Linked DNA regions of Homo sapiens: region 2 is linked to region 1. Evidence: promoter capture Hi-C in 16 types of primary human blood cells and fetal thymus (Javierre and others, 2016). All regions are on one chromosome and are shown on one strand. Each heading gives the region's core, a stretch centred on a gene start or on the middle of the fragment in contact. The rest is flanking DNA. Distances are from core to core; before and after follow the strand shown.

Region 1 (7,271 bases), core at 1,216-3,715:
TCCCAAAGTGCTGGGATTACAGGCATGAGCCACCTTGCCCAGCCATTTTTTTCATTTAATATACAGCATCTTGATTTTTCAGCCAATGTGCAAAATAGCTAGCAGACACACATTTTTTGCATTTCTTCCTTTCCCTATAATGAGATTGCCAAATTAAGATTTGCTGTCAAAGGAAGTAAAACAAAGAAACCTGTCAGCTTCATACTGCCTTCAATCTACAACTGGTGAGGACAAAAGGGTAAACATACACACATTAATATACATACGTAATAAATATATAAATTATCCTACATGGCTAAATGTTAACATAAGTAATACATGTACATTGAAATCAAGTTAATTTTCAAAGGCACGAAGCTAAGGAAGACATCTGCGTAGGTGGAGAGACTTAATAGGTTCTGATTAGGGAGGGACACCATGTGGAAATTTCCTGGGCTTTGGAGCCAGAAACATGAGGTCAAATTTAACTCTACCTCTTACTGATTATGTGGTTTGTGTAAGTTGCTTAACCCTTCTGAGCTTCCTTTTTGTCATGCACAGAACTAGGGGAAAGATTTATCTTACAGAGATTGAGATACTAAATGTTTACAATGGTGTCTTGAACATAATAAGTACCCAAAAAAATGCCTTAATACTGTTAATAGTCCAGACACTATATATGATGGAATTGGTGATCCAATACTCACACCACCAAATACCTGTGAACTCTGCTTTTTGTCTTTGTGTTTTATTTGCCTTCACGCTTTTATATTTATTTGTATAGAGATGGAAAGTGCCTTAGAAATAAACTGCTGTAAACATGAAGGACACACAACTACTTAGTAGCTTTAATGCATTATTGAAGTGATGTTCTCTCCTCCTGTTTCCCCAGAGCATCCTGCACTGGGCTCATTAACAATGTCCCATCCTTCCCCTAAGCAATCCTAAATTTTACTTACACCTCGTGATAAATACAAGCCATCTGACTATCACTAAACAGCTGACCATATCCTGCACCTCTGCTAGCAGCTTGACGTGTCAAAAGCCAAGCTTCCCAAAGAGGAGGATCCTATCCTTTTACTTAACAAGGCTAAAACAGATGCATACACTTTTAGCTGGCTAGTGCCCACATCTTGGGGAAAGGACCTACCAAGTACACATCTCCTTTTATTACATATTTTAGTCAACTGTATGTCCACCCACCCTTCACATTCATCTATACTTAAGAGGTTAGATTTCTAGAAAATCATGGACTTCTAGAAGGATTAGGGGAAATTTTGGCCACTATAATATCCAACCATCCTCTTTTCCATGTGAGAAAACTGGGGCTCAGGAAGATGTGACATGCCCAAGCACACACATCTATTTAAATACCAGTTGGGATTAGAACCCCAACTCTTTAAGTCTTTTGCACACTAATAAGCAAGGTATTATATGTTCCAGTAGTTCTGTGAGGTGCTTATTCAATCTTTTTGGGATGAAAAGAAACGTCCGTGGTTGCGAATGCATAAAGGTAATTAACCCACCTGTCTGTCCATGTGGGGATGGGATTAACGAGGGGGAAAGTTGCGTTTGTATTTTTCCACCATCTTACCTAAATTTGCAGGAAAATTGCTCTATGGGCAATAAATATGACCCAGAAAGACTAGCAACCCCCAGTAGTATCTCAAAAGGGCTCCAGAGACATGTTAGACCAAGTGGAAGTAAAGCACGAGGTGGGGGATGTCTGCTAGGATGGTGGCTGGCAGAGCAGAGGTATTTTTTTTTCCGTATTTATTAACCTGGGAGGGCAGACGTTGTCAATTTCCTCCTCCTGCCACACAAGTGGCCGCGTCCTTGTCACTGGGGCTGTGTGGAGGTTCTCACCTCCTCCTTTTTCCCAGGGATGTTTATGGCGAGGGCGCGGGTCGGCCCGGGCGGAGGAGGACCCGGGCATCGGCGCTCACCCTCCGTCCCCACCCGCGGCAGCAGCTGTGGGCGCCCGGCGAGGGCTCCCTGGGCAGCGCCTTTGTTTTCCCGACTCCAGTTACGTTTGCGGAAGTGCTGCCAGCACGGGGCGCGCTGGGGGCGCAGGCGGCAGCCTCCCCCAGCACCCCACAAAGATGACACCCGACACGGAAGCCGGGGGAGGGAGGGAGGGAGGGAGCGGCGGGCGAGCGAGGCCCGAGCGGAGACAGCGGCGCACGCTGGGCTCCGAGCCCCGGCCCCGAAGCCCCTTTCCCGGCAGCAGGTGTGCGCGGCTGAGGTGCCTACCCGCCCTCCGGCTGGGCCCGTGCGGGGCGGGGGAGGCCAGGGCGGGTCTGCGAGCCCCTTCTCCGCAAGCCGGGCCCGACTCACCTGCTGCGGCGGCGGCAGCGCTCAGCTGCGCGGGGCGCGGGGAGCCCTGTCCCCGGAGCACGGGGCGGCGGCTCGGGGCGCCGGGGCGGCGGCTGTCGGGGCAGCGCGCACCATCCCGGGCTGCTCGCGCGCTCCTCCGGGGCTGCGACGGGCTGGGCGGGGCGCGGCGAGGCGAGGCGAGGGATGCGGACCGGGTGGGGCCACGGAGGACGGAGGCGGAGGGCCCAGCGCTCCCGCCGGCGCGACCTTCTCTCCCGCTGCGGCTCCTCCTCCTCCCCGGCCCCGGCCTCACAGTCGCCGCCGCCGGTCACTACCGGCTGGACCCGTTTCAGGGCCGGGCGCTGAGGACCGGCCGCCAGGTGCAGCGCTCCGCCTCCTGCGGCGGCGGCGGATGCGTCGACTGCCCGCTCCCGGCCTCCAGCCCGCCCCGGCGGCCCGGAGGGACACCTGAACCCAGCCGGGCCCGGGGAGCACGCTGAGGAGGCGAAAGCACTGGGCGAGGCTCCATCCCTACCGCACCCTCCACCCCCCCGCACCCCCAAGCGACTTCCGCTGAGCCCCCAGGCAATGAGTGCGGGCCAGGAAATGTGGGGGAAAATGTACTAACATCCCTTATTCCTTGAGCGCCTTTTAAGTGGCACACACAATGCTAATGCTGTCAGTGCGTTATCTCCGCGTCTGTCCCAGGTTGACCCGGGAGGGAGGAGCCGGCGGGGTGCGGGAGACAAACGATCTGTGAGTTTCGGGGCTCACCAAGAAGGGGGAACACTGAGACGAAGGCACCCTTTTTCAGGAAGCTGCTACTGGCATCTTGCTGAAAAGCCAACCGTGTGTGTCGCACTAAGAATATAATTAAAGTTGTATTTCTAGTTAAACACGCAGAGAGTTGGGGGAGAGTGGAGTATTCACTTGGCAAGTATGTCTGTGTGCCTGTGATGGGCTTTGGGGGATGCCACATCCTGTTCTTAAGGAGTTTATTGTCTTGTTCTGGCAACAACGACAAGAGTGACAATGGTAGCTAACGGCAACAACGACAAGAGTGACAATGGTAGCTAACGCTTATAAACATCGATTATGTACGGGGCACTGTGTAGGTACTCTTTGAGCCTTATAACCCTATAGGTGTAGGAAACGTTATTCCCATTTTACAACTGAGGAAAGCCGAGGCTGAAAGTTAATGTGACCCATCCAAAGTTACTAAACAGCGAAAGGGAAAGCAGGCTTCTTTTGTCTCCAGGCTTTAAGCTCTTAACCGTGAAATCATACTGGTAAGAATTTGATAGGCCCTGAAGTTTCTGAATTTTGAGTCCCTCTTTAGGAAGAATAAAACAATTACAAATACGAAGTTTCTAGGGCCCCTTCCTGAGCTTATGAAGGGTCTCTGAAGCTTAAACTATAGTAGCCTCATGCTAAATCCACTTTCAATATTGACGTAGATATTCAATCATTTCTTTCTCCAGGCATTTCTTTCTCCTGTCAGGAACACGAGACACTGGTCCCCTCCTTGAAACTCTTCCCTTCTCTTCTTTTGGTGCTCCGTAAGTGTTGGATTTTCCTCCTTGAAACTCTCCCCTCCTCTGCCTTCTGTGACCCACAAGTCTTGGGTTTTCCTCTTCCTCTCTGGCCACTCCCCTTTGCTCCACTTGAGTTTTAGTTTTCCTTGGGTTTTGTTCTAGGCTTTCCTTTCTTCTGATTCTGTTTGTTTCTGCGAATTCTCTCACTCCTTGGCTTCAATCACAGAATATTTGAGGGTGCTCCAAAAGCCCTCTCTCGGGGTCAGCTTTTCTCCTGAGGGCCAGATCCTTATGGCCAGTTGTCCAGTGGGATGTGTCACAGGCACCCCAACCTCACTAAGTGCCACGTCAATGTTTCTTTACCTTCTGTTCTTCCCCTACTCGTTTTTTTTTTTTAAGATGGAGTCTCACTCTGTCGCCCAGGCCGGATTGCAGTGGCGTGATCTCAGCTCACTGCAACCTCTGCCTCCCGGGTTCAAGTGATTCTCCTACCTCAGCCTCCTGAATAGCTGGGATTACAGGCATGTGCCACCATGTCTGGCTAATTTTTGTATTTTTAGTAGAGATGGGGTCTCACCGTGTTGGCCAAGCTGGTCTCAAACTCCTGACCTCAAATGATCCCCCCACTTCAGCCTCCCAAAGTACTGGGATTACAGGTGTGAGCCACTGCACCCGGCCCCTCATTCACTCTTGCTTCTGGGTTCCCAGACTCTGGGGTCCCAAACAGCCATCCACCCAGTTGTACAAGGCCCTTCTTCTCAATGCTCCTTTCACCCTTATACCCATGCCCAGTGTATTAGTTACCTATTGCTGCTGTAACAAGTTATCGTAAACTTTGTGGATTAAAACACACATTTATTATCTTACGATTCTGGAGGTCAAGAGTCCAAAATGGGTTTTAGTGAACTAAAACCAAGGTGACTACAAGGCTGTATTCTTTCTGTAGGCTGTAGAGAATAACCCATTTCTTTTACCTTTTCCACTTCTAGGGGCTGCTCACATACTTTGGCTCATGGACCCTTCCTCCATCTTCAAAGCACACCACTCTAACCTCAGCCACAATCCTCACATTGCCTTTTCTGACTCTGACCCTCATTACATTGGGTTCACCTTCATCATCTAGCGTAATCTCCTCCTTTCAAGAATCTTAATCCCATCATCAAAGTCCCTTTTACCATGAAGCATATTCACAGGCTCCTGGGATTGAGACATGGACATCTACAGCGGGCCATGACTCTGTCTATGACATCCAGTCAGATGCCAAACTCTTGATTCTACCTTTTCAAATATCTCTAGCACCTGTCCTCTTCTCTCCATCCCTGTGCTATCCTAATCTCTGTTATCTCTCCTTTGCCTGCAAAATTTCTCTGGTCTCTCTGCCTCAAAATGTTCTCTCATCCAATCAACTTTTCACTTTGCCACCAAAGTAATCTGTTTTCTTTTCTTTTCTTTTCGACAGGATCTTGCTCTGTCACTCAGGCTGGAGTGCAGTGGTGTGATCATAGCTTACTGTAACCTCGAACTCCTGGGCTCAAGGGATCCTCACACCTCAGCCTCCCAGGTAGCTGGGACTACAGGTGCATACCACCATACCCAGCCAATTTTTAATTTTTTTTGTACAGGTGGAGTCTCACTATGTTTTAGGAGAGGAGCAATGTTGGCTGGTTGCACAGCTAGGAGGTACAATACAATGTGAAGGGTGCCTCATGGTGTTGCACAATCCTATGAGACAGCAAAGAAATTACATGGTAAGGTGTTTGTAAAGATTCTTTTGGTGTTGGGCGTAGTGGCTCATGCGTGTAATCCCAACACTTTGGGAGGCCAAGGTGGGCGAATCACTTGAGCCCAGGAGTTTGAGACTAACCTGGGCAACATGGCAAACCTCATCTCTCAAAAAGTACAAAGATTAGCCAGGTGTGGTGGCATGCCTATAGTCCCAGCTACTAGGGAGGCTAAGGTAGGAAGATTGACAGAGCCCGAGAGGTCAATCTCCCAACCTTAGCAGTGAGCCATGATTACACCTCTGTACCCCAACCTGGGTGACAGAGTGAGACCCTGTCTCAAAGAAAAAAAAAAAAAAGTAACTGTAACCAGTAGCAAGGAGAAAGGTTAACAGTGGCATGGACCACAGTGGTAGTGGCTGGGATGGAGAGAAACAGATAGATTTGAGAGTTTGGGGAAGTATATGAGCATACTTGGTGATATGTTGCATGTGGGAGGCAAGGGAAAGGAGGTGTTAAGAATGACTCACAGGTTTCTGGCTTGAGCAACTAGGGAAGATTGTGATAACCTTTACTGAGAGGGAGGAGACTGTGGGAGGAGCAGGCTGGAAGGAAAAAAGGAAGAATTCACATTTGACTCAGTGAGTTTGAGATGCTTGTGAGCCTTGCAGGTGGAGCTGTGAAGTAGGCAATTAAACTTGAGTCCACAGCCCAGAAGAAAGGGCTGGATTTGGCAGTCATCAGTATTGAGGTACTATTTACAGTCATTGGACTGAAGGGGATTACTCAGGAAGAGAATAGACTCAGAGAGCCCAGAGAAGGGCCAACATTTACCAGTTGGTATAGGAGAGAAAACCAGGAAGGATCAGTCAGAAGTAGAAGGCAATTCAGGAGGATGTTGTCACTGAAGACTATAGAAGAGTTGTTTCAAGCAGGTGTAAGTGGTTTGCACTCTCTCTCTCCTCCATATCCTAGACAAAGCATTATGTCCTCCATAGACTGGCTTTATCGCCCCTCGGTGGCTTCGTTTACCATGTGCCTTCTCTATCATGGCATCTATCATATACTATTGTAATCATTTGTTTAACTTCTATGCTAGATTGCAAGCTCCTTAAAGACAGGGGGAAACACTATGTTGTTCAACATTTGTATTATTTAGCATGGACAGTAGTCCATTGGAACAGCCCACATACAGTGGTTTAAATTTTTTTAAAAAGTATGATTTTCCCTCATATAAAAGTTTAGGTAAACATATGTAACAAACCTGCACATCCTGCACATGTACCCTGGAACTTAAAAAATCATAAAATTAAAAAGTTTAGGTAAATAAGTGAGCCCATGGTGTTGGGACTCGAGATTTATGCTCTTTTGATCTTGTTGCTCTGTCATCAAAACCCAACATGGCTGCCCCAACTCTTACTCTCATGTGCACATTCCAGCCATTGCAAAAGGGAAAAGGGGAAGGGGAAGGCATTTTCCTTTCTTTTAAGAATATGGGCCGGGCGCAGTGGCTCATGCTTGTAATCCCAGCACTTTGGGAGGCCGAGACGGGTGGATCACCTGAGGTCAGGGGTTCAAGACCAGCCTGGCCAACGTGGTGAAAACCCGTCTCTACTAAAAATACAAAAAATTAGCCAAGCATGGTGCAATTGCCTGTAATCCCAGCTACTTGGGAGGCTGAGGCAGGAGAATCACTTGAACGCAGCAGGTGGAGGTTGCA
Region 2 (7,303 bases), core at 4,604-7,103, 1.3 Mb before region 1:
TATAATGTGAAAATCTTAAGAAAACATTAATCACAAACAAAGCCAAATTATAATCATGAATATGCATATGAACAAAGGAAAAAAATTTCTATAATTTTTGTAACCCCAGTTACAAAAGTACTATAGACCACAAATAAACTTGTGGAGATTATTCGGTATTTTGTCTACCCCTTAACACTTTCCACACAGTGCCTAATACATAGTGTGTACTGAAATATTTGTTAAACACAGTGAATTAGGGCAAACAATCTGGCACAACTTTTTGTATTCAAATGCTATGGAGTTTTCAGAAAACAAAATCTACTTATTTTGTGATTTGAAGTGGAAAAAAAACAAAGCAACAAATGCAGAGCTAAGTAACCATGAGGTTGATACCATCACTACAACAGTAGTTAAGATGTACTGGCTCTCCACTGTAAGTCATTGAAAGGGCAAAAATTACGTAGGTTTGTTAACATTAACACATGCTTTATTCAAGAGATAATATTCAAAGAGTTAAATCCTAAGAGTTATCCACCCTACAGTAAAAAGGGGAAGTGGGTACCACTTATGACATGTACATAAATTCCACTTTTATATTTCTGAATAAAGCTGCAATTGCTTCTTTGATAGAGCCATTTCTTAAAACTTTTGCTAATAAGGCTATGTGAACTGTGTTCAGAAACTTTGACAACATGCACACTCACTCCTCTCAAAGTCAGTACCCAGGATTTTCACTCCAGGCTGAGTACCTATTAAGTAACTAGGACTTCAGACTGCATGTTACTATATGAATTCAATTTGACTCACCTCCAGTATGTTTATCTACCACAACTATTGTTTAAAATAATCAGATGAATGTTTATCATAACTTTATAACTCCCCCAAATTATACTTCAGTATTTAACATGGTAGTTTCAAAAAATAAATATTCAAGGCCCCAGTTTTAAATTTTCCTCCAATGTAATCCACAAAGTTGATAATACATGTTAGGAGCACTACTCTAAAATAAATGTAGCTTTCTTTTAAAATTACTTGTTGCAATAGAGATCACATTCTATTCCAAATTCTGATAAGGAATCTGTTTTTTTGGTAATACAACAAAAATTTGGGATGAGTCAGTCCTTGGAAAATCTTAATAGTAGTCACTGAACGAAGTCAATCATTCCGAGAGCCACAAACACTCAAAAATTACTGCTAGCATTGACAAGTTCTTGTGTTTTTTGATGGTTATTGCTTTAGTTGGCAATATCTGAATACAAGACAAAAGAACATCTCCCATTAAGCCTTATGTTAAATATTACAAAACTTATACAGAAGATAGACTCATAGAGGCTATAAAGCTGATGTCTTAAGTAACTCACCCATGAAATGGGTGCAGGTTTTTTAAAGGCTATCCAATAATCTTTTTACTCTAAAAATAAATGCCCCTACTTTTCAGTGTTCCCATTCTTCAACAGGAGACTCGAGCAGCTTAACAGTTTTGCTATAAAAACAAACCATTCTTCTTAACAAACCAAGAATATAAAAGGAAACCCAATAAAGGACGTACTTTTCACAGTTAACAATAAATAAAAGTGCAATAAGTGTTCAAGTAGGGCATGTAGTATAAAAACTACACATGAGTATTTAGCATAGGTCATCTTTTAAAGGCTCTCCGAGGGTCCCTGCCATTACTTATTGTGGTCATCACTGTTTGATTACTAGCTGTTCCTTGTAGTTGTGGATTTATAAGTCCCCGGCCATTGCTTCTGCCAGCATGTGAAAACTGGTGTTCCCTTGATTCAGGGCCAGTGTGAACACCATTTCCTAAAAAAGAATACAAAAATTCATCACTATTTTCAGAGGTAGTCTATAGAAGTAGAACTATCTTAAGTGCCAACATGTTATTAATGCTTAAAAATATTAAAGCACACACTTTTATTTTTATACAGAAAAAAAAAACAATGTGGGCTCTAAGTTTTTCCAAATGTATTGCTATAAATATGCTAACTTGATGCTGTATTAATAGAGAGAAAAAAGCCAACTTGGGCATCAAAATTAGAAATTAATAGAGTAAAAAAATGCATTGCCTACACTATAAAAGAAAAAGAAAGGGCAAAATAGTGAATATTGGAATTTGGCTCAAATATGATTAATATCTCAAAACAGACAATGTTATTCTAACTTTTTAAAGGCAAAGGCAGCGTTTCCCACAATGTGATCAGCAATGCCAAGACATGTAGCCTTCGAGTCAAATAAAACATGAGCTGGCCAGGTTCAGTGGCTCACGCCTGTATGTAATCCCAGCACTTTAGGACGCCGAGGCAGGTGGATCATTTGAGGTCAGGAGTTCGAGACTAGCCTGGCCCATATGGTGAAATCCCATCTCTATTAAAAATATAAAAATTAGCTGGGTGGTAGTGGTGCACATCTGTAATCCCAGCTACTTGGGAGGCTGAGGCAGGAGAATCACTTGAGCCTGCGAGGTGGAGGTTGCGATGAGCCAAGATCACGCCACTGCACTCCAGTCTGGGCAACAGCGTAAGACCCTGTCTCAAAAACAAAACAAAACCAAAACATGAGCCATCCTAATGAACTCTAATCACAAAAGACTGACTTTTCCTCATATATTTAAGAAAAAAGACTTCAGAAGACCTTTAACAGAGCTACAAGGATCATGAACATGATGTCTGGGGGTCATGTTAAATGACATCTGAGGGTCACTAGCCTTTAAACGGCTCAGCTCATCTTTTAAAGCAGCAGCTACTTGTATGTGAAAAATTAAGGTGAACTATGACTCTAAAGATAAAACGCTTTCAGTGCACCAAAATAACCAGTAATTCTGCATCTACTATAAGTAATCACTAGATTATAGAAATTTTATAGGAATCAATAAAAAAAAAATAGCATGGTATCTCTTCACGGACATCACAAAAACTTAGAATTCTCAATAAACTGGCTTAAGTTTATCAACTTTCTAGAAAATCAGCCCTTTGGGGATTCCCTGTTTACTGGTAGTTCACCTTTATCACTAATTTATGCCTAAAGACGTTGCTTTTCACGTGAATCTTTACAGCTCTCTTCATTCTTATACCTGATCACAAATGAAACACACAAACAAAATCTTACCCACTGGTCCAAATGTACCTGTACCCATATTACTATTCATGGAATTATTCTTCTGTTCACTCTGTGCCTAAAAAAAAGTTTTTAATTTAACCAAACGAGAATAAAAACACAATTATATTATTACAACATTATTATATCCTTTCTTTTTTAAAGTTTTGGGTTTGGCTTTTTTTTTTTTTTTAATTAACAAATTTTTTAAAGATTTTTCCTAGGTCATTAAAGGTTATAATGTTAAGAAACGTTTCCCAAACCTTTCAGAGCTCTGTTACATCCTATTTCCTGATAATTACTCAGCACACCACAAAGTGCAAAATGGCACATATATCTAGTAGATGACACCTCAGATACATATCCTCACAAAACATACAATAAAAATTAAGTATCCTTTTAAAAATTATCTTCTTTATACTAAGTATCAACAGGGCTAGCCTAATCATAGAATTATAACACAGTCAAAATTAGCCTAATCATAAAAGTATACTACACAATTACCCCTTTGTTCTGCTGTCCTCGATAATCTGGGTTGGGTTCACTGAAATTTGGCACTTCTGAATAAACCATACAAAATCTGAAAGAAAATAAAGAAAAAATTAAATGACTTCTGAAATAAAGTCCTCAACCCTTCTTTATGTAACATCTCTAACTTTTAGGAATGAACTTATGTGTCAAACAAATTAATAGCAACAAACTAACTCTTCATTTACAACAAAAACTTCCCAAATGATTATGTCCCATAAAACATCAAATATTTGACTGTCTACAAGATATATAACATTCTATTTTGTATTTAAATTCTTCTTTAGTGCTGAAAAAAAAATCACATCAAAAATCAAGGACACAAAAACATCTCTGTCCTGTTTTTCCACAAAAGCTGATCAAAGGAAAAATAACATGAGAGTGAACCATGTTTAGGGTTCCAGGGTGGTTTCTCCAGCAGTGGTAATGGATTTGCACCGATCCATTCACCCACTCCCATTCAGTCCCTCTTTTGATCGATCACTGTGGATCTGCAAAGATAATCATTTAGGGTTAAGAGTGGTTTCTAGGCAATAAATAATAACAACAGGCTACATAGCCACCAGTTTATCCAAGTGCTTCCTGTAAGTTGACCATATAATGTGTACTAACATTACAAAGAAGCATTTTATTACTCCTCACCATACTGAAGACAAATCAGAACCAGTTTTGGTAAATCCTCGACTGACCCTGACAAAGAGCAGTCATTAAGAAATGAGTGACCTCTAACGGTTTTTCACGTAACTGACCTCCATTATTATCAACACCTCTGTATGAATACATGAAGGTCAGGACAGAATCCTGAACCTTTCAGTAACAGACACTAAGACCTTTCATAACACATAACTCTATTAATGCTACTCTAAGTGAATCCTAACTTCCCTTCTAACAAAGGCAAAGCGTTAAGTGTTTCTGATCTTTAAAAGCTAGCATGATCATTTCTTTTCCTTCATTATTAACCACAGGTTCTCCAAATAAGCATCTTATTCCCTCAGTGGCAAACAGTTTTCCTTTTTTATCTGGTGCCATTTGTGGCTTCTCTTTTTAAATATCTTCCAATTTGACAGGCATTAAGTAGATGGCAGAGCATTAACCAAACAGAATGGACTGATGATTTGGCTCATTGCCTGTACCATACTTTATGAATACAACCCAATGTCTAGGCTAACATGGAGGCTGAATTACCTTACACCCCTAGAGAGGATGGCTCCTCCAGGTCAGGGTGGAGATCATTACCAGGGTAGTAGTGTATGGAATCTCGCATTGCGGCTGCCTGCACCGCACCTAGACTGTGGATAAATAGAGGACTTCAGTTTTCGTTGCTGCAAGTCCTTTTTAACATGAGTACATATTCACCCATAACCATAGAAAAAGAAAATTTAAACTTATGGCCTGAAACTTGGTGAATCACTAGCTTCGTATATGGTGAATCACTACAAAAGAGAATCTACTTCAAATGGCTCTTGTGACACCTAAAAAATGCACATTTCTAAAACCTACAGAAATGCTTCCACTAGGGCTGGTCTCAACTGCAGCTTCTTCTACTGCTCTTTGCCAGGAAAAATTGACACTTTTAACCACAGAAAACAGTACTGACAAGTGTTAAATTTGTATACACGAAGTTATTTTTTCAATTAAGCTACCAAAGACATTCAGTTTACTAGTCAAAAAAGCCAAAGAGGTTTACAATTCATACCTACCAATCATTCCGTAGATATTATTTATAATATATGCAATTATACAAAATGCATTTTAATACTTACTCCCCAATTTTTTGAAGTTCACCACCCCTTCCAGTATAAAGTGTCAGACATCCTTTCCACATGGATGCATACCTAGAGAGAAAAGAAACATTAATTCTTTAGAAATATATTTATTTTCTTCTATTTAAATCAAGTAAATCTTCACACTATATATTTTTTGTATTAAGGTAGAAGTGAGGATCAAGCCCTCTCTATCCACCATAGTAAATCAAATACAATAAATCTAACTTTGATAACTTGCTATTTACAAAAGAATACAAAAATTCTGTCGAATTTTGACATAATTATCTAAATCATAACAAATTCTGGAAAATAAGTCTTTTCGCAAAGCCAGTATTATTATACCCAATGATCACATCTTTAGTCAATTAACAAAACAAAAGCTTTTAATTGCAGAAATTTAAACAGAAACTATTTTTCAGCCACAAGATATGTAAAATCATCCTAATGTTTCATTTACAGTCTAGTCAAATAATGATATAACAGTTTTCCTTCTGCCTCCATAAAAGACACAGGATTCCTAAGCTACCGAAGATCTGGTAGAATTTCAAAGTGCTAAAAAAAACACTAAGGTCACAAAGCTTCACCTATCTGCCTTTCCAAACATGTGATTTTTAATACCATGCTGGGTTTGTAGTAAACAAACTGGCAAATGTTTACTCCGAACAATTTTGAAAGCAGACAGCATCACTACATAAAATAATCCTAGATATCTAAGAAAAAGGTAAATTAATATTATAAAATCAATCCAAGGTTTGGTTCTCAATGGTTCTCTGTACAACTACTATGGTAACTTCATGACTTTAACTTACTATACAGTTCTCTTTACTTTAATTAAAGGGTTATTTATTAAAGACACCATTCACCACTCTTAAGTTATACAAAGAGTGGCTTAGGATACAGTGCATTAACATTTCACCTTACTAAAATAAAAATTAACCCATATTTTGAGAAAAAATTTGGTTACAATTAAAATATTTAACATTCACTTTAAGAAATGAGAACACTGAGGTAAGTTTTCAGGGTATTCTGATAAACATGTTGATATTTGAACCATTATTTAGATGTTAGGTATGTTTTTCTTCAAAAGCTACTTTTCTTAGATTCAACCAGAATTTAAGGGCCTTAGAATGAGCCAGACTCCAAGCTGAGTGTGTTGTTTTGGTAAATAAGGTATAATTATTCCCATTTCACAGAAGAGGAAGCTGAAGTATGAGGTGTAGTAACTTCTCAAGGTCATACTGAAGTAGTAAATAGAGTTTCTATAGTTTTTAATTTTCGTTTAAATTGTACTCCCAGGTAATTGTTCCCCTTAAAATTCTATAGTACCTAACTAATAAGTTTAATTTTCCAATAATTTTTTTGATGGAAACACCTATGACTGTCACTACAGAACATGAAATACTTGAAATAAGATGCCGTTTTTAGCGTAAAAAATACTTTCAATCATTGGGTGAAAAATATTTGGGGAGCCAAAAACTCCAATTATACTAATCAATCCTCACCATACTTCCCTAAGAAGGAATTCTCTTTTGTTTTTTAAAGATGTGGAAGTTTAAATTACTGTCATGAGTCAGTGTATGAGAAGAAAATGTCTAAGTCCTGACTCTCACTTCCTGCTTTGATGACACTTTACCTCACTTCCTGAAGATGTTGTAAGCCTGCAAGGTAACACCAAGGAGCTCTAAGCTCCTACTCTCAGTGCTTTCCAATACTTCTAAGATTCTACTTATTAGGCCAACATCAATCTCCACCACTTTCCCTGCAGTTAATGATAAATTATTACAATTTTATTGATCTCAAAAGCTTCCAAATTCTGTTTTTAAGATCCTTTTCTGCCCTTTTATCTTCCTAAGATAAAAATTTGGTAAATTTCTAAAAGCAATCTATTTTTTAAAAAAAAAGTTCTAGTATTTTTTAAAGCCACCTATCCG

The links. The method cuts DNA at HindIII sites, captures the fragments that hold promoters and counts their contacts. A CHiCAGO score of 5 or more calls a contact.
Region 2: a contact is called between a fragment that was not itself captured here and the fragment with the promoter of MFSD6 in region 1, in 2 of 17 cell types (fetal thymus and total CD8 T cells). The highest score is 5.1, in fetal thymus.

What each region holds. Positions count from the first base shown.
Region 1 is chr2:190,403,549-190,410,819 of GRCh38, reverse strand. It overlaps MFSD6 (major facilitator superfamily domain containing 6), which reads right to left and starts at 2,465. Exons shown (of 8, transcript NM_017694.4): 1 at 2,317-2,465. RefSeq lists a silencer at 1,845-2,884 and an enhancer at 3,145-3,194. The HindIII fragment of the contact is 2,674 bases long and covers 1,032-3,705 here.
Region 2 is chr2:191,680,084-191,687,386 of GRCh38, reverse strand. It overlaps NABP1 (nucleic acid binding protein 1), which reads right to left. Exons shown (of 6, transcript NM_001031716.5): 3 at 5,370-5,441; 4 at 3,583-3,658; 5 at 3,091-3,157; 6 at 444-1,788. The coding sequence ends at 1,619. It overlaps LOC124900605 (a long non-coding RNA gene), which reads right to left and starts at 101. Exons shown (of 3, transcript XR_007088697.1): 1 at 1-101. RefSeq lists an enhancer at 6,881-7,303. The HindIII fragment of the contact is 198 bases long and covers 5,755-5,952 here.